Regions from separate parts of the Homo sapiens genome. Here region 1 is linked to region 2. The links are contacts of gene promoters, found by promoter capture Hi-C in blood cells and fetal thymus (Javierre and others, 2016). All regions are on one chromosome and are shown on one strand. The core of a region is centred on a gene start or on the middle of the fragment in contact, and the rest is flanking DNA. Distances in the headings are between cores, read along the strand shown.

Evidence for each region. Contacts are between HindIII fragments. The CHiCAGO score rates a contact against its expected background, and 5 or more counts as called.
Region 1: a contact is called between a fragment that was not itself captured here and the fragment with the promoter of IGF1 in region 2, in 5 of 17 cell types (endothelial precursors, megakaryocytes, total CD8 T cells and 2 more). The highest score is 17.7, in endothelial precursors.

The regions. Positions count from the first base shown.
Region 1 is chr12:102,169,516-102,172,215 of GRCh38, forward strand. All of the region lies in intron 6 of PARPBP (PARP1 binding protein), which reads left to right. Among named protein-coding and RNA genes, the nearest start is that of PMCH, 27 kb to the right of the region's middle. The HindIII fragment of the contact is 2,310 bases long and covers 283-2,592 here.
Region 2 is chr12:102,479,186-102,481,885 of GRCh38, forward strand. IGF1 (insulin like growth factor 1) reads right to left here and starts at 1,378. Exons shown (of 4, transcript NM_000618.5): 1 at 1,134-1,378. The coding sequence starts at 1,196. LINC02456 (long intergenic non-protein coding RNA 2456) reads left to right here. Exons shown (of 13, transcript XR_007063427.1): 11 at 1-2,700. RefSeq lists enhancers at 1-93, 184-233. The HindIII fragment of the contact is 6,669 bases long and covers 635-2,700 here.

The DNA of each region.
Region 1 (2,700 bases), core at 188-2,687, 310 kb before region 2:
TCACTCACTAAGATCCGTCACTTTTTCTTACTTCACATTTTTTATGTTCTTTCTCCTCATCTCTTCCTATAGCTACTATTTTATTTCCAGTGTTTACTGTTTCAGACTTTCATCCTTTCTTGTCTGGACCTTTTCACGTGTCACTGAGTTGTCTATTCTGCCTCCAGTCTTAAGTTGCCCTATCCTGTCGTCCTCATTGCTGCCAGAGTGATTTTTCTGAAACAACAAATGTTACTCCCATAATTAAAACTTTTCAGTGATTCCATATTTGGTACAGGGTAAAGCTTCAGGAACCTCAATATGATACACAAAACTGTCTATGCTCTAACTCCTGCCCATCTCTCACTCTGACCTCTTTATCCTCCTCGTCTCTGTCAACCTTAAAACTTAGAAATAAAAATGTATTTAGCTCTTGTATCTGAGGAAAAGTTTATACTACTTATTTTTAAATAGAAAAATTACAGTAATGTTTGAGTCCAAGGAAGGGTGGAATAGACAGACTGGGAAGAAATAAAGAACACTCATCGCCCCACTGCCCACTTTTCATGAGGCCATCTTAGCTATAGGTGGCTGCATTTCTACACTTTGCCAGTAGGTGACACCATAAAATGCATAGTGTACTTTCACCTGAAAGATGTCTTAAATGAGATGTTTCAAGTTGTATCAATTAATAGTTCCCTGTTGTTCAGAAGTTGAAAATTCTGTATTTCACATTTATCACACAACTTTTTAATGCACATTTACATTATACTGTCATGCGCCACTTGATGAGAATATGCTCTCAGAAATGCATTGTTAGGCAATTTCATCACTGTACAAACATCATAGACTGTACATACACAAACCTGGATGGTGTAGCCTGCCACACACATAGGCTATATGGCATAGCCTATTGCTGCTAGGCTACAAACCTGTATGGCCTGTTACTGTATCAAATACTGTAGGCAATTGTAACACAATGGTATTTGTGTGGCTAAGCATATCTAAACATTGAAAAGGTCCTGTTCAGAATGCAGTATAAAACATAAACATAGATAAGCATAGGGTACTTGCCATGACTGGAGTTTGCAGCACTTGAAGTTGCTCTGGATGAGTGGTGAGTGAATATGAAGGCCTGGAACATTATTGTAAACTCTTGTAGACTTTATACACATTATAAACCTAGGCCACACTAAATTTATAGAGCAAATATTTCTTTCTTCAAGAATAAATTACACTTAGCTTGCTCTAACTTTATGAACTTTAAAATTTGACTATGAATTTTTTAAAATTTTGAAACTTTTTGAGTCTTGTAGTAACACTTAGCTTAAAACACAAATACATTGTACAGCTGTACAGAATTTTTTTCTCTGTATCCTTATTCTATATGCTTTTCTCTGTTTAATTTTTCTTTTTTTTTTTTTTTTTTGCTTTTTAAACTTTTTTGTTTAAAATTAAGACACAAACATAAACATTAGCCTAGGTCTACACAGGGTCAGGATTATCAATATGACTGTCTTCCACCTCCACATCTTGTCCCACTGGAAAATCTTCAGGAGCAGTAATACCCCTGGAGGTGTCATCTCCTACAGTCACAACACCTTCTTCAGGAATACCTCCTGAAGGACCTGCCTGAGACTATTTCAGTTAGTGCTTTTTTTTTTTTTAAATAAGTAGAAGGAGTACACTCTAAAATAATGATAAAAGGTATAGCAAACACATAAACCAGTAAGAGTCATTTATTATAATGACCAAGTATTATGTATTAAACATAATTATGTGCACTATACTATTATATTACTGGCAGCACAGTAGGTTTGTTTACACAAGCATCACCACAAACATGTGAGTGATGTGTTGAGCTATGATGCTACGATGTTACATCACTAGGCAATAGGAATTTTTCAGCTCCATTATAATATTATGGGACTACCATCATATATGTGGTCTGTTGCTGACTGTAATGTTATTATACAGCACATAACTATTTATGTTGGGCTAAATATACATGTTTGGAGTGTTAAATCTCACTGAAATTTTTCAGTCTAATCTCCTAATGTTAAAGTTTTTCTTGTTTAAAAATATTTCATGGCCGGGCTTGGTGGCTCACACCTGTAATCTCAACACTTTGGGAGGCCGAGGCGGGCGGATCACGAGGTCAGGAGATCGAGACCATCCTGGCTAACACGGTGAAACCCCGTCTCTACTAAAAATACAAAAAATTAGCCAGGTGTGGTGGTGGCGGGCGCCTGTAGTCCCAGCTACTCGGGAGGCTGAGGCAGGAGAATGGCGTGAACCCGGGAGGCGGAGCTTGCAGTGAGCCGAGATCGCGCCACTGCTGTCCAGCCTGGGCAACAGAACGAGACTCCGCCTCAAAAAAAAAAAAAAATTCAGAAATATTTTTCATATATTTTATGTGGCACCTTTAATTACATTTAATTTTTAAAGGTAAAATTTACTTCAACAAATAGTTATCAAATTCTTGAGTATGGTATGGAAAAGCAGTCACTTTATTTAGGAAAGTGAAGAACTCAGTAATTACATTAAAGTATTACCAATCATTTGTCTGTATTATTGCTTAGTGTTCTCTTCCAGTTACTTTATTTTGGTACAAGCTTGGGGATTCAGTTGTGCTTTTCATCAGCAGCCTCTTGTTTCTCTTTCTGCCCCAGGGCACTGGTGTGATGCAGTTAGGAGTCAGGAGCTCAGTTTGCCTCTTTC
Region 2 (2,700 bases), core at 128-2,627:
TGCATGTGTTGGCATCTCAGGAACAGCAGAATCAGGTGCCTGACAAGGGTGTATCTTTAACTCCTGGAGCCACTTACTTGACTAGGGAAAGTCGTAGTGGTGAAGTGTTTGAAAGCAGCAACTGAATGCTGCACTAAGTGGCAGAGACGTCTTATGAATTGAGCCCTCAGGCAATTGAATCGGTGGAGCCAGTGACAGCAGCTTAAAAGCGCTTGCAAATTGAAAAAAAAACACAAGTCTTGAAGGATATAATTTTGCTGAGAATGGAAACTAGAACTACGGCCAGCAATCGGAAACGAGAAGTCGGTGCACTGACAGCAGCAGCCAGATTTACCTAAAGGGACTTCACGACACTGAATATAAAATCAGAGTTTTATAACACAGAACCCCAAGTCCAAACTTTGCCCATGAAAGTCCTCTTCTAAACAGAAAAGTTGGGCAAGCAGCTCTTAGAAAGTTTCTGCTTTCCATATACAGTATGTATTTGTTTAAATTATACAAATATGCAAGGTCAGCAAGAGTTGTCAAGGAGTTCTTTTTTGGAAGAACAAATTACACTTTACTCTAACTTTAACACTCTCTCTGGGCATAAGTGCAGAGTTCCGGGACCTTAGCTCCAAAGATCATATTTAAAAGCTTTAATATCATCTAAAATACAACCCTTCATATATAGCATGCCTTGTAAATAAAGTCCTGATGAGTTACACACACAGAGACACATACACACAGAGACACATACACACATGCAAAAGAACATGGTCTTAAAAATAAAACATCTGCACCTGCAAAAGAAAAAAAAAATCCCCAAGTTCATATCCATGCTCTATAGCCCTTAGCCATAGAGAGGATTTAAAGGAATCTTCTGTAATGACACCACGGAAGCCCTGCAGAAGTGGAGGATTTAGCATAAGTACCTTGCAATAGTTTCTACTCATACAGATATCTGTGCAAATGCATCCATCTCCCCGAGCTATTTTTCAGATTCCACAGAATTGCATATTCAGCAATTTATAAATAACTCTCGGTTCCGAAACAATGAAAATTTTAAAGTGAAGAACAGTTCTAGGCAGAAGCAAACAGTACACAATTTAAATAGAATTCCCCAATGACTTCAAAGAGTAAGAAATATTTACCTTCAAGAAATCACAAAAGCAGCACTTAAATAATTGGGTTGGAAGACTGCTGATTTTTCCCATTGCTTCTGAAGTACAAAGTCTGAAAATGAATTGGTTAGCAGGAATAATGAAGCAAAAAGAAATCCAGAGAGATGGGAGATGTTGAGAGCAATGTCACATTTCAATTTTGAGGACTTTATTCCATTGCGCAGGCTCTATCTGCTCTGAATTTAGCAGTGACAGTGAGATTTAGCAAACAGAAGAGGGATTTAGAGAAAATCCTCACATTTATCTACAAAACACAGACACTGTAGACAGGAAACAGCTGGGGGAACATTTGCCTTCTCTCTCTCTCCCTCTTCTGGCAAAGTTATTGAGTAAGGACTTTTTTGGGCATGGTGACAAATAACATCATACCTTTGCATTTTAAAACTAGAGCACAGAAGCATTTTTTTCCCTTAAAAGAATGTGTGTTAGTGACAGGGTTCGCAGACATTAAAATACTTATGCTGCCATAGAAAATAAGGATCTGTTTTCTGATTAACTTTCTGCTGGGCATGAAGACACAAACGTCTGCTAATACACCTTACCAGTATTAAAGGAATATGGGGGATGGGAGAGCAATTTTAGATTCTAGAGCAAATGCATTATTTAAAACAAAAAAAGAAAGAAAGGACGATAAGACCCTCTCCAGCAAACTCTACAATTTTAACCCTGAAGTGACTGGGGTAAAGTAGATTGGAAGACAGCACTCGGGTGACCCCTTGTCCCAGTTGCCAAGTGAGAGGTGTGATCTCATTTCCTAGAACCTATGGAGGGGCAGGCAGCATTGGATTGGTCCCTTTAGGGCACTGTCTCATACTTTTTCTCCTGCGATGAGGCAAAGACTATGCCGAGCTGTAAAACCCAACTGAAATAGAACATTTTTCTTTATTCTTCTACTAGGCTGCCTGTCACTGTCCCCTCCCCACCCCACCACTCTGGGAGAAGGGTACCTGGGGGGCAAACAATTTTCCTGTTGTTTGAATTTTCCATATAACTCAAACCTGTGTGTGTGTGTGTGTGTGTGTGTGTGTGTGTGTGTGTGTATGACAGAGGGAGTCTGTGTGCCAGAGTGTGTTTTCTTTCTCTGATTTTTGTGTATTCTAAATAACACCAGCTGGCTAGCAATACCCTCTCGAGGGTTATGATGTCATTCAAATCCCTCAACTGGGTGACTGGCCGGCAACATGGTCCAAGCCAGCTGTTTTGCTATTTATAATGTACACTTGCCTTTGCCATTGAGAATTCAGTTCTGATCTTTTGTCGATACAGTTTGTACCTATTTCCCTTTGGTTTTGTGAAGCAGTAGATAAGAAAGTGAATTATAAAATAAGGTTGCAAAAGCCCAGAGCAGACATACCTCTTTCCCTAGAGAGCTCTCCAGGCCTGGTTTCCCAGGAGTGGTGGAAATAACCTGGACCTTGAATTTTTTCTTTTTTTTTTTTTCCACATGACTCTCAGGGGACTGACACATCAACTGAAAACACAGTTCTGCTTGAAATCCTACTCTGGCTCTTTGTGTTATCCTGGGGCCAGAAATTTG